Regions from separate parts of the Homo sapiens genome. Here all the other regions are linked to region 2. The links are contacts of gene promoters, found by promoter capture Hi-C in blood cells and fetal thymus (Javierre and others, 2016). All regions are on one chromosome and are shown on one strand. The core of a region is centred on a gene start or on the middle of the fragment in contact, and the rest is flanking DNA. Distances in the headings are between cores, read along the strand shown.

The links. Contacts are between HindIII fragments. The CHiCAGO score rates a contact against its expected background, and 5 or more counts as called.
Region 1: a contact is called between a fragment that was not itself captured here and the fragment with the promoter of SSRP1 in region 2, in 1 of 17 cell types (M2 macrophages). The highest score is 5.1, in M2 macrophages.
Region 3: a contact is called between a fragment that was not itself captured here and the fragment with the promoter of SSRP1 in region 2, in 2 of 17 cell types (activated CD4 T cells and non-activated CD4 T cells). The highest score is 5.4, in activated CD4 T cells.
Region 4: a fragment that was not itself captured here is called in contact with the fragment with the promoter of SSRP1 in region 2 in 4 of 17 cell types (M1 macrophages, endothelial precursors, M0 macrophages and 1 more); the score reaches 8.8 in M1 macrophages.
Region 5: a contact is called between a fragment that was not itself captured here and the fragment with the promoter of SSRP1 in region 2, in 11 of 17 cell types (total CD8 T cells, fetal thymus, activated CD4 T cells and 8 more). The highest score is 11.2, in total CD8 T cells.
Region 6: a fragment that was not itself captured here is called in contact with the fragment with the promoter of SSRP1 in region 2 in 11 of 17 cell types (non-activated CD4 T cells, fetal thymus, total CD8 T cells and 8 more); the score reaches 9.5 in non-activated CD4 T cells.
Region 7: a contact is called between the fragment with the promoter of BTBD18 here and the fragment with the promoter of SSRP1 in region 2, in 15 of 17 cell types (activated CD4 T cells, naive CD4 T cells, total CD8 T cells and 12 more). The highest score is 18.9, in activated CD4 T cells.

The regions. Positions count from the first base shown.
Region 1 is chr11:57,821,186-57,824,538 of GRCh38, forward strand. No RefSeq gene overlaps it. Among named protein-coding and RNA genes, the nearest start is that of CTNND1, 61 kb to the left of the region's middle. The HindIII fragment of the contact is 771 bases long and covers 1,562-2,332 here.
Region 2 is chr11:57,333,756-57,337,378 of GRCh38, forward strand. It overlaps SSRP1 (structure specific recognition protein 1), which reads right to left and starts at 2,137. Exons shown (of 17, transcript NM_003146.3): 1 at 1,975-2,137; 2 at 1,313-1,485; 3 at 708-893. The coding sequence starts at 1,366. It also overlaps a transcript of P2RX3 not described here. RefSeq lists enhancers at 1,306-1,375, 2,226-2,275 and a silencer at 1,876-2,055. The HindIII fragment of the contact is 4,158 bases long and covers 2,075-3,623 here.
Region 3 is chr11:57,785,270-57,788,663 of GRCh38, forward strand. All of the region lies in intron 1 of CTNND1 (catenin delta 1), which reads left to right. The region is part of intron 2 of TMX2-CTNND1 (TMX2-CTNND1 readthrough (NMD candidate)); the gene reads left to right. Among named protein-coding and RNA genes, the nearest start is that of CTNND1, 25 kb to the left of the region's middle. RefSeq lists an enhancer at 3,274-3,394. The HindIII fragment of the contact is 4,789 bases long and covers 1-3,394 here.
Region 4 is chr11:56,842,983-56,846,148 of GRCh38, forward strand. No RefSeq gene overlaps it. Among named protein-coding and RNA genes, the nearest start is that of LINC02735, 3.9 kb to the right of the region's middle. The HindIII fragment of the contact is 4,094 bases long and covers 1-3,166 here.
Region 5 is chr11:57,803,551-57,806,788 of GRCh38, forward strand. It overlaps CTNND1 (catenin delta 1), which reads left to right. Exons shown (of 21, transcript NM_001085458.2): 8 at 71-254; 9 at 1,113-1,230; 10 at 2,332-2,485; 11 at 2,911-2,928. TMX2-CTNND1 (TMX2-CTNND1 readthrough (NMD candidate)) reads left to right here. Exons shown (of 21, transcript NR_037646.1): 9 at 71-254; 10 at 1,113-1,230; 11 at 2,332-2,485; 12 at 2,911-2,928. Among named protein-coding and RNA genes, the nearest start is that of CTNND1, 43 kb to the left of the region's middle. The HindIII fragment of the contact is 1,237 bases long and covers 1,093-2,329 here.
Region 6 is chr11:57,715,612-57,719,287 of GRCh38, forward strand. All of the region lies in intron 1 of TMX2 (thioredoxin related transmembrane protein 2), which reads left to right. All of the region lies in intron 1 of TMX2-CTNND1 (TMX2-CTNND1 readthrough (NMD candidate)), which reads left to right. It also overlaps the pseudogene PPIAP42. Among named protein-coding and RNA genes, the nearest start is that of TMX2, 4.9 kb to the left of the region's middle. RefSeq lists an enhancer at 1-452. The HindIII fragment of the contact is 5,340 bases long and covers 1-3,676 here.
Region 7 is chr11:57,749,799-57,753,217 of GRCh38, forward strand. BTBD18 (BTB domain containing 18) reads right to left here and starts at 2,021. Exons shown (of 3, transcript NM_001145101.3): 1 at 1,743-2,021; 2 at 1,267-1,438. The coding sequence starts at 1,390. All of the region lies in intron 2 of TMX2-CTNND1 (TMX2-CTNND1 readthrough (NMD candidate)), which reads left to right. The HindIII fragment of the contact is 11,151 bases long and covers 1-2,803 here.

The DNA of each region.
Region 1 (3,353 bases), core at 697-3,196, 490 kb after region 2:
CAACTGGCGAGCAAGTGGCCCCATTGGCTAAAGCCAAGGAGACCACATCTGGAAACTTAAATCACTCTGGTAGCTTCCAGAAAGAGCTACCTCAGGAAAGCTCAAAAAAGAAACAAGATAATTGTTAGGAACAATTTTTTTTCACACAGCTTTAAGACTGTTCTGTTGCCTGTGTCACTTAAAGCATTAGTTCTTCAACTGATCCATCCAGGATTTAGAGACAGACATGGATGAAGAGAAAGCTGGAGGAGGTAAGATAGGTTGATTGGTCTGCATCATTTTAACCTGACATTTTTCTCCTTTTATGCAGTGTAAAATGACCATGGATAGCTATCCATGAATGGACTAAGAGCTTTACACTTGTTATAATTGTAGGAGCTATAAGCATGTGGCAACTAGCTTTAAAATTTTTTTTTACCTGAGAAAAAGTGCTATACTTATCTCCATATACTACTTTATTTTTTAAAAAAGACAGGTTATTCCACTTTTATTGAGGACACAAAAGTATTACTACCCTGCTGTCTTTTCCCCCAGTATCTCTAGTGCTAATGGACAGTGCCATAAGACATTTATGCCTGAGGAAAAAGAAATATGGGATATTTGTGGTGATGTTCCAGTCAATTACCCAATTTTTGTCTTCACCTCAATTCTTTTTTTTTTTTTTTTTGAGGTGAAGTTTCGCTCTTGTTGCCCAGGCTGGAGTGCAATGGCATAATCTTGGCTCACTGCAACCTCCGCCTCTTAGGTTCAAGCAATTCTCCTGCCTCAGCCTCTGGAGTAGCTGGGATTACAGGCATGCGCCACCACGCCTGGCTAATTTTGTATTTGTAGTAGAGACGGGGTTTCTTCAGGTTGGTCAGGTTGGTCTTGAACTCCCAACCTCAGGTGATCTGCCTGCCTCGGCCTCCCAAAGTGTAGTGATTACAGGCGTGAGCCACCATGCCTGGCTCACCTCAATTCTTCTTTTCCTTCCACCTTAAAGGCAGGCTTAGCTTTGGTCTTACAGTTCACGCGTTGGCAGAATCGGGGCAGGGGGAGTGCGTTGGTGTGCGTATTTGAAACTAATTCAGGGCTCTGTTTTTGGCAGTATGCTGGATTAGATAATTCTGAAAAGTCCTTTCAGCAGAAGCAACCAAGATACTGGGTAAATATATTTATAAAAAATACTTTTAAACATATTGCTGAGCAGGCACGAAAGTAAGGAACCTACGGCTCTTCAAAATGAAGCAAAAGCTGGAATCCTAGGAAGTAACTGCCAAAGCCAGCTTTTCCTCAGAATTTTTGCCAAATTCAGCAGACCATAACCTTCTATTTTAGTGATTACACAAAGTATGGGCAACAGGAAATGAGAAATCTAGTAGGTTCCCTCATAAAGCTGGACACCCTCAGTGTAAAGGTGAACAAGAAATAAACACTCCATAGAAGGGCGCAGCAAGGAACTCATTTGTCTCAACCTTAGTGGCACATGGAAACTATAGAATATTTTCCCTGATGATTTATAACCACAAATGGCCTTCTATGGGCTTTCAGTCCAAACTTAGGCTACCTGTGTGGTCCAAAAAGCTTAACTGGGGAATTTAAAGTGGTACTCATTTGTTTATGCTTCCAGGTGATTTTCAGAAGCAAATGCAATTCCTCTAAGGCCTCAGAACAATTCCCATAGATATACTTTCAAGGCAAATGAGTGCTCTTGCCCAAAAATTATAAACTGAACAAAGAAATAAGGCACAATGAGTGAAAAGACAGACACAGAAGCTGATCTTTTAAATACTTCAGATGTTGGCATTGTTGCACAGACTATAATGAAATAACGATTAATGAACTTTTTGAATTAGTGGAAAAACCTTTTTGAATTAGAAGTGAAAAATACAAATTTGAGGTAAGAAGTCAATGCATGGATTAAATAGATTAGACAAATTGAAGGAGGATTTGTGAATTGGAAGATAAGAAATTATACAGAATGCACTCCAGATAGAGAATGGAAAATAGGCAAGAGGTTGAGACAACAATGGAATAAGATCTAATAAACATTATTTGGAACATCAGGAGATAGGAGGAGGCAATATTCAAAGAGAAATTTTTTAGGGTTGGATGAAAGGCACCAAACCTCAGACTTAGGGAGCCCAGTGAATCTCAAGCAAGATAAACCAACTTACCTAGTACATCAGGGTGAGATGCAGAAAACCAAAGAAAAGATTGTGGGCATCTGGAGAGAAAATACAGACTACCTGTAGAAAACCAGCCAGATGGTGACTTCTGTGTCAACAATGAAAGCCAGGAAACAGTGAAATTTATCTTCATCATGTTAAGAGAAAAAGGAACTTATTATGAAAGCTTACCTGAGGTGACACTTTTTAAAAAGCTACTAAAAACATTTTCCGACAAAAGCAGAGTTTCCACTTACAAAAGGATGTCCTTGAGGTGGAAGGAAAATGATCTCAGATGGAGAATCAGATGCAAGAAGGAACACTGAACGAAATTGCTAAAGCCTTCACTGTAAGAGGAGTGTGTAATTTATGGGAGAGAAATACAGACTAGAATTAAAATGCTGGACAACAATAGCATGTAAAGTTGAGGGAGCAATTACAACACTAATTTTCGGGTTCTTCAGGAGGAAAGTAAAGATACTGATAAGACTTGAAAAACTAAATAGATTGGTACAGAAGTAATTGCATTGAAATGGCAAAAACTGCAATGACTTTTGCACCAACCTAATACATATTAGCTGGAATAACCACTAAAGAATGAATATAGGACATATAACTTCCAAACAAGTAGAGAGGGAAGAAAGCAAAAGGAGTATGGGCAAGGTTAGTACTGGTGCTGCATCTGATGGAACAAGCTGAGCCTGCAGGGCAGTGGTGGTAGGTAGTGGTGAAGCCCCCACCTTTATATCACAGCACTGGGTATAGCGTGTGGCAAGTTAAGTAGATGTGTGCAGCAAAGAGCAGAGTGAAGAACAAGAATAGGGACAAAGGGAATAGCTCCAAGACAATTTCTATAAAAGCAAAGTTAAAAATTGGCTGGTAAGTGAGTTGGTCAGCCTGGCTTAAAGACACAGTCAGTACAAATGCTTTCATATTTTGCTGATGAAATTGCAAAGTCTTCTGTAATCCCAGCACTTTGGCAGGCCGAGGTGGGCGGATCACGAGGTCAGGAGATCGAGACCATCCTGGCTAATGCAGTGAAACCCCATCTCTACTAAAAATACAAAAAATTAGCTGGGCGTGGTGGTGGGCGCCTGTAGTCCCAGCTACTCGGGAGGCTGAGGCAGGAGAATGGCGTGAACCCGGGAGGCGGAAGTTGCAGTGAGCCGAGATCATGCCACTGCACTCCAGCGTGGGCGACAGAGC
Region 2 (3,623 bases), core at 887-3,386:
TATAAACTTTGTATAGGTATTACTTTAATGAAAGTGGAAATTAAAATCAAATAAAGCCTTTAACTCAAGCAGTTCAAAAAGGAAAACAAAACCCACACTTTAAGATATCAAGCTAGCCAGGCGCAATGGCTCACGCCTGTAATCTCAACCCTTTGGGAGGCCAAGGTGGGCGATCCCTTGAGTCTGAGAGCTCAAGACCAGACTGGGTAATGTGGCAAAACGCCGTTTCTACCAAAAATTATTAAAAATCAGCTGGGCATGGTGGCATGTGCCTGTGGTACCAGATACTCAGGAGGCTGAGATGGAAGGATTACTTGAGCCCAGGAGGCGGAGGCTGCAGTAATCCGAGATTGCGCCACTGCACTCCAGCCTGGGTGACAGAGCAAGGCCCTGTCCCCAAAAAAAACCAAAAACACACATACACACAAAGAAATCAAGCTAAGATTCTGAACCTTGATAAAAGCCACAGGCAGAAACTACTATCTAAATCAAGACAGAAGAAAATCTTCTGGAGTCAAGGCACACAGAAATTCACAAGACTTCAACGCTCAAAGCCAAACACTGATTGCCTGATGGCCTCACAGCCCTGCTCTAAGGAGCCCAAACTAGCAATCACAGGGTTACATGAGGAAGGAACCTCGAGTCTCTAGAAGATTAAAATAAGAAGATGCAGTAAAAAGGAGGCTTATAGCCATGGGACATCTCACCGATTCTCGGAAGCCATCATACTTGTAGACATGGCCATTCTTTGTAAGCAGTTTAAGTCCATGGCCCAGAGCAACACGGCGCCAGATACCTTCTGTTAACTCCCCAGCCTGGATGTTGTCCACTTTGCCTGTCTTGCTATTCTTGAAGATGATGCCCTGACGGCTCAACCTCAGTCGACCATCATTCTGTAAGAAAAGCAGGCCCAGATGCATGGAGACAGTACACAGCATGTCCTGGGTTCTACAGCTCTACCTAACACACATTCCTGCTGCAAGTGGACTGGCCAGATTATCAATGCAGGAGCAACAGCTGAGGGTGCCAAGGAGTCTAGATTCTAAACCAGACTCTGGTATCTAGAACCCTTAACAGATTCTCAGTTTCCTCATTTGTAAAACAGGAATTGGGAACTGAACAGCATATACGGTCCCTATAACTCTGAGACTATCTCTCAGTATTGCCTTGAGTTGGTGGAGACACTAGGTACACATTATACTGAGTCTTCTTTTTCCAAAATAACGTTACCAAAGCAAGCTCTCATTAATGGACAAAAACTCTACCCTCCTTCCTTCTCTCTACTTGTATCACCTGTCCAAGCCATTCTCACCATGGAACCTTTCACCTCCTGATAGACGTCGTTGAACTCCAGTGTCTCTGCCATGTCGACCCCTGCCTGTGGTGGCCTGGGCAGAGCCCCAGGCTGCACAAGGGAAACCAAGTAAACTGGGAGCTGGGCCCCAACTCCTGAGTGGGTGTGCGGATGCTCAGCAGGTTGGGAATCTGAATTCAAGAGGAAGACAGATAAGCATGAAAGACAGCACCTCGCTGTGCTCACGGATGGAGCCAGGTAGCAACTCCCAGCTGCGCCTGGATGTCTCAGGATTTCCTCTGCCTGGAAACCTACAGACGGACGCTGCAGTGCCCGAGGGTCCAGGTCCAGGCCTGGGTGGAGAACCGGGCCCGGAATACCGCTGACACCCAACCCGACGCCCGCTCTGGCCGCTCCGGCGGGAGCCATGGCAACGAGCAGCGGAACCCCAGGGTCTGCCAGGAGCCCGCACATCGCACGCGACCCAATCCAGCTCAGAGTGCAGGGTTTCCCTCGCACCGCTCCCACCACCCCGCGGCCCCAGACCCACGGTTCACCCCCGCCCCACATAATGGATTCGCCCGCTCCCCGCGGTTGCGAACGCGGAATGGTCCATGTCGAGGGTCCCGTGGGGGAGCGGGGCCCCTGCCTTCCTGGGACCGGGGACGACCACCACCTACCTCCTCAGGCTGCGGCCTCGCGAGGGCCCCGGCGCGAGAGGTGGGCGCGCTGGGGGGACGCGGGGGGGGCGCGGGGAGGGGGATGGGGGGACACCGGGGAAGCTTTTCCCGCGTGCGCGGCCCCGCGTCCCGCCACCGGAAGCCGTACACAGGCCACAGAGAGGATGAGCTGGCTAGAGAGACGCGAGTCGGGCCCGCCTGCGAGACAGTCGCATAGAGCGTCAGCGACTCTGGAGGACCTGAGGGAAGGGTGGTTGCCGTGAAGCCTCTCTCACCCAGGGGGAATCCGGCCTAGAAAATGTGTGTAGGGCTCTTTAGAAACTACAGACACTTCTTCAGTCGAGACTAGATACTAAAGAGAAATTGTGTAGTTTTATTGTATCAGACTTAGTACAGGGGTGGGGTGGGGGTGTGTATTGGAATGATGCGTGCCCGTTTCTCTGCAAAATAGTTTCTATGTCATGGAAAGGAGTCGATGGGACAAGAAGAGAAGTATTTGAACAGTTGTGGGAGGAAACGACCTCTCCCACTGGCTGCGGAGAGTATGCGGGTGTTGGTGTCATCGTGGGTGCACTGCTTTCTGGCTGAACTGTCAAGTTCACTGTCTACACCCAAAATTTTCACATCCTTAACCGAAAATTATAGGTACCTCCAAGAGGCTGGCAAACGGCCTTATCCAGTTCAAGTCCTGGTGTCAGATTCACCTTGGAGCCAGAACTGATTTGAAACCACATCATCCTGTGGTTGCGGAAGCCAGGTCTCCCCCGTATAATCCCAGAGTGCATTTTGCAACATCAGAGACCAGACCTGGAAAAGATGTTTTAGTTTTTCTACCCCAACCTCCTTTTACTGATGGGAAAACTGAGACCCAAAGGGGAGTGAGTTGCCCAGGGTCTCAGTGCGTTGGCAACAAGGCTAGGTAGGACCCAGACCTCCTTAACACCACCAGTCCAGTTATCTTCTGTCATAATCACAGTGACTGTATGTTCAGAATGACTATTGATATGTGTCCTACATGAAGACATTAGTACAGAATATGTAAGCTCAAGATTTCCCTGACAATCAATACACCAGCTTGCTAAATCAATCCTGGGGTAAGAGACAACAGGAATGCACCCTTCTCCCCTGAACTCATAGCTTTAACCTCTGAGTAGTGGCTATTCCAGCATTATCTAGCAAAATAAATTCAACTGGGTTTAATAAATAGATATTGAGGGCCTATTACTACTTTAGCACACTTCTCAGATTTGAGGAAACTTGAACAAGGTGAAAACATCCCCGGCCAGGCACGGTGGCTCACACCTGTAATCCTAGCACTTGGGGAGGCCAAGGCAGGGAGATCACTTGAGGTCAGGAGTTTGAGACCAGACTGGCCAACGTGGTGAAGCCCCGTCTCTATTAAAAATACAAAAATTAGCCAGGCGTGGTGGCGGGTGCCTATAATCCCAGCTACTCAGGAGGCTGAGGCATGAGAATTGCTTGAACCCAGGAGGCAGAGGTTGCAGTGAGCTGAGATTGTGCCACTGCACTCCAGCCCGGGTGACAGAGCGAGACTCTGTCAAAAAAAAAAAAAAAAAGAAAGAAAGAAAAAGAAAAAAAAAAGGAAGGGAAGGAAAGAAAGAAAAAAAAAAAAAACAGAAAAAAAAACC
Region 3 (3,394 bases), core at 870-3,369, 450 kb after region 2:
TCTAAGCACTTTACATGAAATGCCTCATTTAATCTTCACAACCACCCTGTGTATTTTTATTCCTCCATTTTACAAAAAAGGAAGCTGCAGTTTCGAGTGGTTGATACTTTGCCCAAAGTCATATAGCTAATAAGGATAGATCTTATACTTAAACCCAGGCAGATAACAAAGCCTATACACTTAACCTCTTAAGAATCATAATTCCAAATTGTATTTCTTTAGTCAGTTTACAGTAGAAGAAATCATTCCAGGGACTGTGCTATTGGTAGGTGATTTTTTTGTGTGTGTGTGTGTGTGGGGTACTGAGTCTAGCTCTGTCACCCATGCTGGAGTGCAGCGGCATGATCTCGGCTCACTGCAACCTCCGCCTCCCGGGTTCAAGTGATTCTCCTGCCTCAGCCTCCTGAGTAGCTGGGATTACAGGTGTGCACCACCAAGCCTGGCTAATTTTTTATTTTTAGTAGAGACGGGGTTTCACCATGTTGGTCAGGCCGGTCTCAAACCCCTGACCTTGTGATCCGCTCACCTCGGCCTCCCAAAGTGCTGGGATTACAGGCTTGAGCCACCACGCCCGGCCGGTAAGTGATTTTTTTGTTTTTTGGACCTCCTATCTGGTTAGCACTGTCTAGTTGTTTGGTCCTTCTGGGTATTTGATTTAATTTAACTTCTTTTGGTTGGGAGTTCTTACAGACGAGACTGAGTTTTTATCATTATCATTGCTTGGATGAAGGATCTTTACTATGGACTATGGACTCTGGGTAATAGCAGGAATATCTTTCTAGTGTGGGTGGGATCCAGTAATGTAGGACTTAATGGCTTATTGAGAGTAAAACTAGGTATTCTCAGAAAATCTAGTCTTAAGGGGGAATAACAAGTTTCACTTTATGTTTCCTCAACCCCCTGACTTCAGGAATTCTTTGATTTTTTTTTTTTTTTTTTGGTGAGAGGAAATGTAGTCTATTTAAAAATCTAAGTAAGTGGAGGCCGGCTGCCGTGGCTCACGCCTGTAATCCCAGCACTATGGGAGGCTGAGGCAGGCGGATCATGAGGTCAGGAGATCGAGACCATCCTGGCTGACACGGTGAAACCCCGTCTCCACTAAAAATACAAAAAATTAGCCCGGTGTGGTGTCATGCACCTGTAATCCCAGCTATTCGGGAGGCTGAGGCAGGAGAATCGCCTGAACCCAGGAGGTGGAGGTTGCAGTGAGCTGAGATTGCACCACAGCACTCCAGCCTGGGCCACTAAGCGAGACTCCATCTCAAAAAAATAAATAAATAAAAAATGTAAGTGGCAAAGCTGGAAAGGCATTGGGCTGGACTTGTAATTACGACTCCTGACTGTCTGCCAAAGTCAGCTGAAGGTTTGTAGTGTGATCTTTTTGATGCATATGGCATGAGAAGAATCTTTTTTCCTTAAGTCTCCAAGCGATGAGACCATTTACTGTAGCCTGCCTAACAGCTTCATTCTTTCCCCACTCATACATTCCTTTTCCTCCCATTTTTTTTCTGTTTTCTCACTTCTATGTAGATATTATGGGTAACTCTTGAGCCTAAAAAAACAAAGTAGAACCCTTTTCTTTCCCTGTTTTCCTGTGATAGTTGAGAAGAAAGCTCTCAAAGGTTGTAGAGGAGAGGCTCTGGACCATCCATCTGGTACTGACTGCACTTCTATTTGGACTTGACACCATGGCATAGAAAGAGAACACAGGCTTTGGAATGGCATAGACCTGGGTTTAAATTCAAAATTTGCTATTAACTGTGAGACCTTGGGTAGTTTCTTCACCCATGAGTCTTATTTGCAATAAAACTTCCTTAGGGTTGTTGTAAGGATTGCCAAGATAGTAAATGTAAAACATTCAGTAATCATTAGTTTCACATTCCCTTTCTCCAAGGTAATAAATTGTTAAGGCCTCAAATACAGAATCAAGAACTTATTATGACAGATGTGTAATGATGTGATGACTTCCAGGCACTAGAGAAGTGTCCTTTGTCCCAGAAACACTGGTATAGGTGGGACGTTCTAGTAAATAGATTAGGAGTAGGGAAACCAGCCCATTCACTCCTTAGAACCTAGTTATGTTTTTGATCCAGTTGATTTCATCTACTAGTTCACAAAATAGTTTGAGGCTGAGACATTACGGTGAAGTAATGTAATTGGAAGTGTTAAACCAACTTTTGAAACAACTTAATACCTGACATTTGTATATAACATACATTGTCTCACCTAATCCTCACAACAACTCTGAGTTAGACCGGGCTAATTTCCTAACTCCTGGGAAGCAGCAATTTTTTTTCTTTTTCCCCAATTTGGTTCCTGGAAACGGGGCAAATGGATTTGGCATCTTACAAGTGAGAATATGACAGGGTTTACTGCCATTGTTGGGTAGTAGTAGAGCCAGAACTGGGACCAGTCTTCTTGAGTTGTGTTCTATCCCATATGGCCTCTGCTTCTGTCCTTTTTCAGGCAGAATATCTCCCCATGCTTTTAGACCTAGGAATCTGATCTTTTTGTGTAATTGTGCTGTCTTCTTTTCCAAATTAGAGCCAGGTGGTCAGCTTTAAAGCTGTGAAGATGGTGGAAGCTAATGTTTCTCCAGATACTGCTTTCTGACCTAGAGCCCTGAGTATTTTTCCTATCTCCCTTCCTAACCTTCTTCACTGAATTTAAGTTGCAGGGCCATTTATGGCCATCTATACACTTTCTCTTTGCAGCAGGGAATGTCACTGTATCCCCCGTGGTAGCAGTAATTTGGGCTTTTATTAGCAAAGAAGATTATAGGGTGGATGCTGCTGGAGTGGTAATTGCACTTCAGACCCTGTTGAAATTCAGTAACTGGAAGAATCTCTTTTTGAGCTCAGAGTCCTCTTGGTGTGGAAGGTTCATAGGTCATTGTACATAGTGGATAAGGGCAAGTACTTAAGAAATGGAGATGAAAGGGGAGCACCTTTTTTTTTAAAATAAGGGTGCTTATTCAAGAAAGACCTTTGAGTGGCCTGTTGGAATGTAGGGTGGGAATATGAGAAAGTGGCAATGGGTTTTGGACTGAAAGGAAGAAGAGTTGATAGGCGATTATGGGAACTTCGAGCTGGGGTAGGAGGAATTTAGGGAAGGGCAACCACGTTCTTTAAACTTAGGGACTGGATTGATTCAGGAGTTTATTGGACACTTACTTATCAGTTCCTTTGGGTACTCTTGCTTGCTGACTTCTGCATACACTCTAAGCCAAACAGGCCCGGGCATTTGTGCTTGGTGGGGCTCTGGGGAGCGTGGGAAAGGGAACTGAAGCAAAAGGCTCAGCCTAGGCTAGTCCCCACATGTCTTCCCCACACAACTTTTGCATTGGTTTCTCAATGTCTTTGTGGGCATGCTGGGACTGGGCTTTGAGGTTTCT
Region 4 (3,166 bases), core at 285-2,784, 490 kb before region 2:
GATTATGGAATTCAACCTTTTATTTTGCAAATAAGGAAATGAAAATTTCACACAAGCAACCTGACTCATGGTCATGCAGCTATTTGGTGGCAGAGCTTTAGACTGACTATCATGCCATGGTGGCCACCTGTGCCATGCTAAAAATAACCTCAATAAAAATAATAATGAGATTTCACTTAGGGTAGAATTGACCCCAACTTAAACTAGATGAATATTCACTGACATTTCCGGGTTCCAAAGTGGATTTATGGTCAAAAGAATCTATGTGTCTCCATTTGAAGTTTCTCTGAAAGTCCCTGGTGCCCCCACTAAAAACATATGCAAACACTTGAGTTACCTAGAGTCTGTCAACATGTGACATGCCACGATTAAAATAGCATTACTTTAGCTTAAGGTTTTATCCATTGTTACATTTGGAATACAACTACACCTGTGAGATAATGTTGCCAGTCGGTCAACACTTGAATAACTCTTCAAAGTAAAAGAACTTCTTTATCTATAAAGAGCTAGTTGTTAATTCATTGACTTCTTTGATAATGCATTTAAAGAGTTCCTGCTCTTATAAGACAGGGCTAAGAATTAGAAATGAGTAAGACGGGACTTCTGTTTTCACAGATTTCACAGTCTATCAGGTGAGAGAATGATTTAATAGGATGTGATGCGTCATAGCAGTTTTGTAAAAACACAGTCTTGTAGCTGCAGAGGGCTGGAAACTAATTTTATTTAATGAAAATGGGGTAGAAAAGAATTAGGGAAGTCTCTTAGAGCAATCCACAGAAGGCATTGATGGGAGGATATTAGAAAAATTATGAGGGTATTCTATATCTAAGGGGAATGAGGAGAAGACAGTGAGAAAGAGGAGAATCAAAAGCCAGATATCTGGCTTACTTAAAGCCTGACTTTCTCAATTGCCATTTGATCAAGTCCAGCTAGACCTAAGACAATTTAGATGAGTTGAAAAAAATATATAGACCTTTTACTGTATCACATTCCAGAGTGAACACAAAACTAACATGATGCATCAATACACAGGGCTGAACAACTGAAACGACTCATGAGACTCCACAGAGTACAGTCTTAATAAAGTAAAGGATACTCTAAAGTAGGTGGGGGGAAAGCACAGAAAACCTCAGAAAAGTCCAAGACCTTCAGACCCAGCTTCCAGGATCATTTCTCAATTGATTAGGATGCGATTTTAATCTGAATCATGAACTACTAAGATATATACAAGAAAACTTGAGCTCTGGAGAATCACAGTCTTGTCCAAGGAGTGGTCTTTCATATCTGTCTGGTCTCATAACCAAAACTGGGCTGCATGACAAAAGCGAACAGAAGAAACAAAGAGAACATAGTAGAAACTAGGTAAAAAACACCAATCTGGAATTTTTTGTTGTTTTTTTAATGAACAAAGCTAATAAACTACTACAGATCTCTCACTTGGCCTGTCTCAGGTCCTAGCACAGGAATATTTGTCACCAGTTAGTTGAGCTTATTCTGATTTGGCTAAGGTTCCAGCAGTGTCTCCAGGAATCTCTGGAAATAAGTCAGTCCTCCCTCCAGACAACAATGGCTCCAAGCATCCCTGGAAATAAACATAGGATTGCAGTAGACCAGCTAAGATTAATCTTGTATTTATGTATATAACAGCGCTTCCTCAAACCAGAAGAAGACAATTAAGAATTAAACAGTTAAAACAAAGACAGAAACAGTATATTTGGCTCCATTTCCACTCTTCATCCCTACCTTCCCCCGCATTCAAATATTTCCCTTTCAGCCTTTATCGGGACTCAGAATGTGTCTGAAATCTTCTTGAACTCCAGCTTCAATTGAGACTGATTCCTGCTCTTTCTCCTGGAGCCAGAGTTAGTTGTGAGAATCACCAATACCCAACTCATGGCTGACTACTCTTATGTCTGTTGCTGGAGTTAGTGAGTTCTCTCTCCAGCCTCAATAACTGTGCTGCTCCCAGGTGCAAACGGGATGTAACTGTTTCTGTCCCTGCTACAGATGAAACCTTTTGAGAGGTGACAGCATGCTGGCAGCCCTCACAGCCCTCACTCGCTCTCAGCGCCTCCTCAGCCTCGGTGTCTGCTCTGGCCATGCTCTAGGAGCCCTTCAGCCCGCCACTGCGCTGTGGGGGCCCCTCTCTGGGCTGGCCGAGGCCAGAGCCAGCTCCCTCTGCTTAAGGGGAGGTGTGGAGGGGGAGGTGTGGAGGGAGAGGCGCGGGCGGGAACCCAGGCTGCGTGCAGCAATCGTGGGCCAGCACGAGTTCTGGGTGGGCGTGGGCTTGGCGGCCCCGCACTTGGAGAAGCCAGCCATCTCCGCCAGCCCCCGGCAGTGAGGGGCTTAGCACCTGGGCCAGCAGCTGCGGAGGGTGCTCTGGGTCCCCCAGCAATGCCAGCCTGCCAGCACTGTGCTCCAATTCTTGCTGGGCCTCAGCTGCCTCCTTGCAGGGCAGGGCTCGGGACCTGCAGCCCGCCAGGCCAGAGCCTCCCCTGCAGTGGGCTCCTGCCGGGCCGAGCCTCCCCGATGAGCACCGCCCCCTGCTCTAAGGCACCCACTCCCATGACTGCCCAAGGGCTGACTAGTGCTGGCACATGGCGCTGGACTGGCAGGCAGCTCCACCTGCAGCCCCCTGTGGGATCCACTAGGTAAAGCCAGCTGGGCTCCTGAGTCTAGTGGGGACTTGGAGAACCTTTATGTAAGACTAGGGGATTGTGAATGCATCAATCAGCACTCTGTGTCTAGCTCAAGGTTTGTAAATGCACCAATCAATGTTCTGTGTCTGGCTAATCTAGTGGGGACTTGGAGAACCTTTATGTCTAGCTGAGGGATTGTAAATACACCAATCAGCACTCTGTGTGCAGCTCAAGATTTATAAACACACCAATCAGCACCCTGTGTCTAGCTCAAGGTTTGTAAATGCACCAATCAGTGCTCTGTGTCTAGCTAATCTAGTGGGGACTTGGAGAACTTTTGTGTCTAGCTCAGGGATTGTAAATGCACCAATCAGTGCCCTGCCAAAATGGACCAATCAGCTCTCTGTAAAATGGACCAATCAGCAGGATGTGGGTGGGGCCAGATAAGGGAGTAAAAGCAGGCTGCCAGAGCCAGCAGTGGCAACCCACTGCCGCTGGGTCCCCTTCCCCACTGTGGAAGATTTGTT
Region 5 (3,238 bases), core at 461-2,960, 470 kb after region 2:
TTCTCTTTGACGTTCTTCAGACATATTGTCTTGAATGCTCAAGAGCCATCTGATGAATTGTCTCTTCCAGGAACCCTGTGGAATCTTTCATCCCATGACTCAATCAAAATGGAGATTGTGGACCATGCACTGCATGCCTTGACAGATGAAGTGATCATTCCTCATTCTGGTTGGGAGCGGGAACCTAATGAAGACTGTAAGCCACGCCACATTGAGTGGGAATCGGTGCTCACCAACACAGCTGGCTGCCTTAGGTAACAGTAGGGACTTTGAGAATATGAAGATGAATTTTTGAGGACTGACTTAAATTTCCTAAAAAAAAAAAAAAATTAAAATTCTTTAGCCTATTCTTTAGCCTCCATTCCTATCTGTATTGCATACTGTAACTCCAACCTTTCTATCTTTGTTGCTATTCTCTCATGTATACCACATGTACCTATATCAGTTTTCTTGCTGTTCCCCACACATCCTCTTCACTTTTATGCCTCTTTGACTTTGTTCATCTACTTTGGTAAGCTTTTGTTCAGCATCTACCACATGTAAGGTGGTCTAGTCCTGGACTTGTGTGTGTCTATGTCCTTGCCCTAGTTATTTGTATTTCAAGTCAGGCTGTGATAAATTCAGCAAAAGGGGTACAGAGTACTAGGAGGTTAGGGCATGGGTGAGGAAGGTCTGTTCTTTCTGTGATGCCTTTCTCTTCTTATTTATCTTTTTGTGGTTAAACTCAAGTGCCTTTATTTTATTAAAGTTTTCCTGAATTCTTTTTATATCCTATAAATGCTGCTATATAATCTTTCTCTCTTTGGAATACACCTCTGTGTGCTGTGTTCCATTCTACATATGTATTATATACTTCCATACGAGAAGTATATATTCCATCTTGAATTACTGCATCTGGTACATATCATTAATCCCTACCCCACAGTGATATAAACATTCAGAAGGCAGGGACTGTTAATCAACTTTCTCTCAACTGCAGTACCTTGCTTATAATAGGTATTTACTATTACAGTGAGTAGAAAAACATATTCAGGAATCTTGTAGGTGTTGAGGGATATTTAAGGGAGGATTTCTGGATTTGAGTCATCTTGAAGCTTCTGGTTTCCCCTCAGGAATGTAAGCTCAGAGAGGAGTGAAGCTCGCCGGAAACTTCGGGAATGTGATGGTTTAGTTGATGCCCTCATTTTCATTGTTCAGGCTGAGATTGGGCAGAAGGATTCAGACAGCAAGGTAAGTGCTGTCTTACCTTTAATGGCTGAGTGAATTTCATTCACCACAACTATGAAGTATCTGTAGGTCAGAGACCTATCATCTCAGGCTTTCAAGTAACATTAAATATTTATACTGTCCCCTACCCCTTATTTTTGAGACAGAGTCTTGCTCTGTTGCCCAGCCTGGGGTGCAGTGATGTGATCTCAGCTCACTGCAACTTCTGCTTCCTGGGTTCAAGCGATTCTCATGCCTCAGCCTCCCAAGTAGATGGGATTACAGGCGTGTGCCACCACACCCAGCTAATTTTTGTATTTTTAGTAGAGACGGGGTTTCACCATGTTGGCCTGGCTGGTCTCAAACTCTTGACCTCACGTGATCCCCCTGCCTCAGCCTCCCAAAGCATTGGGATTACAGGCGTGAGCCACTGTGCCCAGCCAAGCCCTTACTCCTTAAAGTGGGTATTCAACTTAAAACATGTTTTTTGTTTGTTTGTTTGTTTTTTTGAGATGGAGTCTGGCTCTGTCCCAGGCTGGAGTACAGTCCCGTGATCTCGGCTCATTGCGACCTCTCCCTCCTGGGTTCAAGCAATTCTCTGCCTCATCTCCTGAGTAGCTGGGATTACAGGCACCTGCCACCATGCCCGGCTAATTTTTGTGTTTTAGTAGAGACAGGGTTTCACCAGGTTGGTCAGGCTGGTTTTGAACTCCCGACCTCAGGTGATCCACCCGCCTCGGCCTCCCAAAGTGCTGGGATTACAGGTGTGAGCCACTGTGCCCGGCTTTTTTTTCTTTTTTTTTTAAATCTGTCACCTATGTATTTTAAAGCTGCTTAGCTGTCTTCCAAAATTGTACATTGTCTAAGTAGTAAGAATGATGATCCAATTTCAGTCACACACCAAATAGTGGCAGAAGCCAATAAGTCCATAGTTGGACCTTCCATTAGCCTGAGGCTACCGGGATTTCAAGAAGCCTGGAGCACTTAAGAGGCATCCTGAGAAGTTATGGATTGGGTTATGCATTTGAAGATCAACATTTTAATACCTGAGTCATGGAAACCTGTACTTGTGGAGAAATCACAATAGACATTCTTTTTTCTCATTGGCCCTTTTATGTCCCTAAGCTTGTAGAGAACTGTGTTTGCCTTCTTCGGAACTTATCATATCAAGTTCACCGGGAGATCCCACAGGCAGAGCGTTACCAAGAGGCAGCTCCCAATGTTGCCAACAATACTGGGCCACATGCTGCCAGTTGCTTTGGGGCCAAGAAGGGCAAAGGTGAGTCTTGGTTCCTGTTTCTTAGTCTTTAATGTGGGATAGGGAAAGGAAGGAACACTTTAGCTTAAGGTACAAAATACTTGGCAACAGTATGGGAGTCTGCCTGGTTATGGATGTCTTTTTGGTTTGCTGCTTTCCCTGTGTTGTGTGCTTCATTCAAGGTGTGGTGATGGGATGGTGGTTGTGATGTGTTGGTGGTGGTGGTGGTGGTGGTGGTGGTGGTATCAATGAGTGGGGCAGTGGAAAATGAGAACTCAACTAATCTGGGACCTTCTTCCCCATACGTCCTTTGCATTTTCTGTGTTTTTCTTTTCTTCTCTGTGCTTCCCTGCTTATTTGCCCATGATTCTGCTGACATCTTTCTCCTGCATTTTTCTTATTTCATTTCTCTTCTCTGCTTTCTACCTTGGGTGATGCACTGGAAGATGAGTGGTTCTCCAGAGGTGAGTGGAGTCTTTTAAGGTGCTTATCTACTTCTAATTTGCATGTTTTGATTTTAGCTTCCCTAGTATGTCCTTGCCTAACCTTTCCCTGTCTATGCATGTAGGAAAGTTCAGTTGAGGAAGACACTGAAACAAGTTTAGCTCTTTGGAGCTAATAGCTCACGGCATGCTGTTTCTGGGCAGCAGTCCCCATTATCAGAACTCAGGACAATAGCATCAACAGTGGTCATCCTCATCTTACCTATCTGCTGCCTGTTTTCTATCCTTGTTTCTGAATAGTCCCCTGCTGGAACAAGTTGCCCTCACCTGC
Region 6 (3,676 bases), core at 321-2,820, 380 kb after region 2:
CTTGGGTGTTTCTCGCAGAGGGGGACTTGGCAGGGTCATAGGACAATAGTGGAGGGAAGGTTGGCAGATAAACAAGTGAACAAAGGTCTCTGGTTTTCCTAGGCAGAGGACCCTGCCGCCTTCCGCAGTGTTTGTGTCCCTGGGTACTTGAGATTAGGGAGTGGTGATGATTCTTAACGAGCATGCTGCCTTCAAGCATCTGTTTAACAAAGCACATCTTGCACCGCCCTTAATCCATTTAACCCTGAGTGGACACAGCACATGTTTCAGAGAGCACAGGGTTGGGGGTAAGGTCACCGATCAACAGGATCCCAAGGCAGAAGAATTTATCTTAGTACAGAACAAAATGAAAAGTTTCCCGTGTCTACTTCTTTCTACACAGACACGGCAACCATCCGATTTTTCAATCTTTTCCCCACCTTTCCCCCCTTTCTATTCCACAAAACCGCCATTGTCATCCCGGCCCGTTCTCAATGAGCTGTTGGGTACACCTCCCAGACGGGGTGGTGGCTGGGCAGAGGGGCTCCTCACTTCCTAGTAGGGGTGGCCGGGCAGAGGCGCCCCTCACCTCCCGGACCGGGCGGCTGGCCGGGCGGGGGGCTGACCCTCCCACCTCCCTCCTGGACGGGGCGGATGGCCGGGCGGGGGGCTGACCCCCCCCCACCTCCCTCCCGGATGTGGGGCTGACCCCCCCACCTCCCTCCCGGACGGGGCGGCTGGCCGGGCGGGGGGCTGACCCCCACACCTCCCTCCCGGACGGGGCGGCTGGCCGGGCGAGGGGCTGACCCCCCCACCTCCCTCCCGGACGGGGCGGCTGGCCGGGCGGGGGGCTGACCCCCCCACCTCCCTCCCGGACGGGGCGGCTGGCCGGGCTGAGGGGCTCCTCACTTCCCAGTAGGGGCGGCCGGGCAGAGGCGCCCCTCACCTCCCGGACGGGGCGGCTGGCCGGGCGGGGGGCTGACCCCACCTCCCTCCCGGACGGGGCGGCTGGCCGGGTGGGGGGCTGACCCCCCCACCTCCCTCCCGGACGGGGCGGCTGGCCGAGCGGGGGGCTGACCCCCCCACCTCCCTCCCGGACGGGGCGGCAGGCCGGGTGGGGGGCTGACTCCCCCACCTCCCTCCCGGACGGGGTGGCTGGCCAGGCAGAGGGGCTCCTCACTTCCCAGTAGGGGCGGCTGGGCAGAGGCGCCCCTCACCTCCCGGACGGGGCGGCTGGCCGGGCGGGGGGCTGACCCCCCCCACCTCCCTCCTGGACGGGGCGGCTGCCGGGCGGAGACGCTCCTCATTTCCCAGACGGGGTTGGTGCCGGGCAGAGGGGCTCCTCACTTCTCAGATGGGGCGGATGCTGGGCGGAGGGTCTCCTCACTTCTCAGACGGGGCGGCTGGGCAGAGACACTCCTCACCTCCCAGACGGGGTCGCGGCCGGGCAGAGGCGCTCCTCACATCCCGGACGGGGCGGCGGGGCAGAGGCGCTCCCCACATCTCAGACGATGGGCGGCCGGGCAGAGACGCTCCTCACTTCCCAGATGGGATGGCTGCTGGGAAGAGGCGCTCCTCACTTCCTAGATGGGATGGCGGCCGGGCAGAGACGCTCCTCACTTTCCAGACTGGGCAGCCAGGCAGAGGGGCTCTTCACGTCCCAGACGATGGGCGGCCAGGCAGAGACGCTCCTCACTTCCCAGACAGGGTGGCGGCCGGGCAGAGGCTGCAATCTCGGCACTTTGGGAGGCCAAGGCAGGCGGCTGGGAGATGGAGGTTGTAGCGAGCTGAGATCACGCCACTGCACTCCAGCCTGGGCACCATTGAGCACTGAGTGAACCAGACTCCGTCTGCAATCCCGGCACCTCGGGAGGCCAAGGCTGGCGGATCACTCGCGGTTAGGAGCTGGAGACCAGCCCGGCCAACACAGCGAAACCCCGTCTCCACCAAAAAAGTACGAAAACCAGTCAGGCGTGGTGGCGCTTGCCTGCAATCGCAGGCACTCGGTGGGCTGAGGCAGGAGAATCAGGCAGGGAGGTTGCAGTGAGCCGAGATGGCAGCAGTACAGTCCAGCTTCGGCTCGGCATCAGAGGGAGACCGTGGAAAGAGAGGGAGAGGGAGACCGAGAGGGAGAGGGGAGAGGGGAGAGGGGAGAGGGGAGAGGGAGAGGCAGAGGCAGAGGCAGAGGCCAGAATTTGTTTTCATTCTTTATTTTCTTTCCCTAGCTTTTTATTGTTGTTGTTATTTAGTTTTTATTTCATAATCATAAACTTAACTGCAATCCAGCTAGGCATGTAAGGGAACAAGGAAAACACGGAACCCAAAGGGAACTGCAGTGAGAGCACAAAGATTCTAGGATACTGCGAGCAAATGGGGTAGAGGGGTGCTCTCCTGAGAGGAGAGCACAGAAGGAATGGTCTGGTGGTGAAGACAAAACAAGTCAAACTTACTAGACTTATCCACAGTCAGCAATGGTGATCTTCTTGCTGGTCTTGCCATTCCTGGACCCAAAGCGCTCCATGGCCTCTGCAATATTCATGCCTTCTTTCACCTTGCCAAAGACCACATGCTTGCCATCCAACCACTCACTCTTGGCAGTGTAGATGAAAAGCTGGGAACCTTTTGTGTTGGGTCCAGCAATTGCCATGGACAAGGTGCCAGGACCTGTATGCTTTAGGATGAAGTTCTCATCATCAAATTTCTCCCCATAGATGGACTTGCCACCAGTGCCATTATGGCGTGTGAAGTCACCACCTGATACATAAACCCTGGAATAATTCTGTGAAAGCAGGAACTCTTACAACCAAATCCTTTTTGTCCAGTGCTCAGAGCACGAAAGTTTTCTGTTGTCTTTGGAACCTTGTCTGCAAACAGCTCGAAGGAGATGCGGCCCAGGGGCTCACCATCCACGGTGATGTCAAAGAACACGGGGTTGACCATGGCTGATAGTACAGGGCTCCTGGTGGTGGCAGCAAAGCCTCTTTGCCCAACTTTTTATATCTGTTTAGTTTTATCTATATCATTGTTTTCCTCCATTCATTTATTCTGAAATAACCCCCCCTCTTTTTTTTTTTTTTTTTTTTGAGATGGAGTCTCACTCTGTTGCCCAGGCTGGAGTTCAGTGGTGTGATCTTGGCTCACTGCAACCTCCGTCTCCTGGGTTCAAGTAATTCTCCTGCCTCAGCCTCCCGAGAAGCTGGGACTACAGGTGCCTGCCACCACGTCTGGCTAAATTTTGTATTTTTAGTAGAGACGGGGTTTCACCATGTTGGCCTGGCTTGTCTCTTAACTCCTGACCTCATGATCCGCCCGCCTTGGCCTCCCAAAGTGCTGGGATTACAGGTGTGAGCCACCGCGCCCAGCCACAAAGGATTTTTAAAAAGAGCTTTCTGGTCAGAAGTTGGCTTAACTAAAAGCTGATATTCAGGCCATATATATATATATTTTTTTTTTTTTTTTTTTTTTGAGACAGAGTCTCACTGTCACCCAGGCTGGAGTGCAGTGGTGCAATCTTGGCTCACTGCAACCTCCATCTCCTGGGTTCAAGCGATTCTCCTGCCTCAGCCTCCTGAGTAGCTGGGATTACAGGTGCACGCCACCACGCCCGGCTAATTTTTTGTATTTTTAGTAGAGACGGGTTTTCACCATGTTGGCCAGGATGGTCTCGATCTCCTGAACTCGTGATCCAGCTGCCTCG
Region 7 (3,419 bases), core at 771-3,270, 420 kb after region 2:
AATCCACAAACTGTAGAGTGGTATACAATATTGGTTATCATAATTATTTTTTATAAATGAAGACATTGAGCCCCAGAGAGATGAAGTTACCTGCCCATTTCTTGGGCCTTTATATATCAGGATCTACTTAGTAACTCTGACTCCTAATCTTGGGCCTTGTACATTATATATCAGGGTCTACTTTATGCTGAATTAACATTTCCAGTGTGAAGTGAAGGGGTGGAAATAACCTATACATTTTTAGTTCTAGCAACAAACAACAAAAGTCATCAATTTGAAGATTAAATAAATTAAGCAGGCCGGGCAACGTGGCTCACGCCTGTAATCCCAGCACTTTGGGAGGCTGAGGCAGGTGAATCATGAGGTCAGGAGTTCGAGACCAGTCTGGCCAACATAGTGAAACCCCATCTCTACTAAAAATACAAAAAATTTTCCGGGTGTGGTGGCACGCACCTGTAGTCCCAGCTACTCGGGAGGCTGAGGCGGCAGAATCGCTTGAACGCGGGAGGTGGAGGTTGCAGTGAGCTGAGACCGTGCCATTGCACTCCAGCCTGGGAGACAGAGAGAGACTCTGTCTCAAAAACAAAACAACAACAAAAAAGAAAATGGGAAAAGGGTCGGACGTGGTGGCTCACGCCTATAATCCCAGCACTTTGGCAAGCCCAGGCGGGTGGATCACTTGAGGCCAGGAGTTTGAGACCAGCCTGGCCATCATGGCAAAACCTCATCTCTACTAAAAATACAAAAGTTAGCTGGGCGTAGTGGCGCATGCCTGTAATCTCAGCTACTTGAGAAAGCTAAGGCATGAGAATCACTTGAACCCAGGAGGTGGAGGTTGCAGGTAGCTGTGATTGTGCCACCACACTCCTGCCTGGGCAAGAGAGTGAGACTCTCAAAAAGAAAACATAATAGTATCATCTAACACATATTGTGGTTAGTATATTAAAAGCACTATTCTAAGTGCTTACCCACATTAACTCTTAATCTTCACAACCATCCCATTGGAATATTATCCATGTTATATAGAATGTATCTGCTTATAAAACTTTACAATTAGATTCATTATTTAAGAGAAAGAAGCAAAGTCACAATTTCACTCTTGAAAACAGTAGTAATTGTCCTAGAAACAAACAGCCCTTTACCAAATAGTTTACAGTGGTCATAGGCAGTAATATTTTGCTGATTTTGTCCTTTACCCTCTGGCTCTGAACTCATTTTATCTTATTCTATGGTGAGTTTTCAGTTGAATTCCGACCACTCTCTTACCTTCTGCCTGCAGAAGGACATCACAGAACACATCACTCTGCTGCTGGTGATGAAGCTGCAGAAAAGCTAACCTGAGGAACCGGGGGTTCCTGTATAGGATTTTGGGACTGGCAGGAGAGCACATGTTGGCAAGAGTCTTAACAAACCTTCTAGGTTTTCACAGATCAGACTCCTGTAGGTGAGATAATACATTTCAGAGGCATGGTTACATCTAATTTGTTTTTTGTCTTTGAAATGGCAGGGGAATTTTGAAAGTGAGAGATAATAGTATGAGTTGAGGAAACATCAGCCCAGAAATTGTGCCAAGGATATCTCAAGAAAGAAAATTATCATAGTGGTTACATGTGGGAGCTCAGAGATAAGCCTAGGTTTGGGTCTTGGCTCTATTTATTAGCCTGGCTGTATAATCTCACACAGGTGACCTAACTTCTCTGAGTCTCACTTTCCTATCCATGAAATAGAATAATAGTACTTACCTTGTAGGGTTGTTTTAAAGATTAAATGAGTCAGTGAAGGTAAAGTTGCTTAGCACAGTGAGTGCCTGGCACAAAATAACTACCAAGCCCCAAATGGTAACTATTATTATCCTTCAACCTTCCTCATTTCCATTACCACTGAGACTCAACTGCTACAATGCTGACTACTTATATTCTTCCTGAGCACCACATCCCAGCTCCACAGGTATAATCTTCAAGTTAACACTTTTAAGGAAACATTACTGGGTATAAAATTATCTCTAGTAAGTCGTATGCGCCTTTTCTCTGAGCTCACTGTATCACACTAACCAGCAGAGGGTGCACAATAAAGAAGAGAAGCCTCTGACTCTGCGGGAAGGTCTCTCACAGAACCAAGGACGTTGCCACCCTTGGCTGGGTGTACTTGACCAAAGCGAGCCTGACTGACCCTGGTAGTAGGCAAAGAATTTGGCCTTTACGTTTGTATAGTTAATTACCAGGCTAACAATGCAGCAAGGATAGTAAAGCATTTTACCCCTCCCAAAACAAACTGAGTATTCTGACTTCAGGCTTATGTCCAGCTTTTTAGCTCCGAAACCCCCCCACTCACTGCACAGCTGTGTTCCTTTCCTGGAATGCAGTTTTCTATCAGGTAGCACTGAGGGTCCGAACAGTTCACGTCAAAACTATCAGGAAAGAAGAATGAAAAGGTAAATTAAGAGAAGGCGGGCTTGGCTGGGCGGGGTGGCTCACGCCTGTAATCCCAGCACTTTGGGAGGCCGAGGCGGGTGGATCACCTGAGGTTAGGAGTTTGAGACCAGCCTGGCCAACATGGTGACTCCCCGTCTCTACAAAAATACGAAAATTAGCCGGGCATGGTGGCAGGCGCCTGTAATCTCAGCTACTCAGGAGGCTGAGGTGGGAGAATCGCTTGAACCTGGGAGGCAGAGGTTGTAGATAGAGCCACTGCACTCCAGCCTGGGCGACAGAGCGAGACTCCGTCTCAAAAAAAAAAAAAAAATTCCCATCCCAGTGAGAGAGATGTGGATGGAGGATGGCAGCTGTTGCAAGGGCCCTGGGGAAGCTTCTCAATCCACGATCGCCTGGCCTTGCCTCCAGACCCAACTTGAAATAGCTTTTCGGTAGACTTTGCTCCTGTTGCCTTCTCTGTGCTTGTCCTCTGTCCAGCCTGCCTTGCTTCCTCTCAATGTTCAGCGTTGAGTCAGGAGGCTGAGCAAAGATGCGCAGGTGGGCCAACGGCTGAGTGCTTCACCTCCCCATCCAGAAGCAAGGGAATCGGTGTTGGCGGAGAAAGCAGGGCTTCAGGGAGAGCCCTGCAAAGCGGGGTGGCCCGCACGCTTGGGCGCCCTGGCCCAACTCCTTTGAAGAAAGACTCCTAGGCGCGAGGGTTTCTGGGAATGGACCGTGGGGATCCGGGAGGCCCAAAGTCAGGACTTCCCGTCACGGCCACCTCCGCCAGCATAGACTTTGCAGGCAGCCCCTGGCGCCCTTGTATCCCTGCGGGCTTCAGCACCCACATGCACTGGGTGGTAGTGATAGCGAGGGTTGTAAGGCCACGCGGCCAGCGCCACACACCTCGTGCCACCGTCCTAGCGCGCTGCGCGTCGCAGAGCCCTACGCCCCTCCTCCTCCCGAGTCCTCGGGCCTACGTCGTCCGGCATACGTCATCCCCATTGG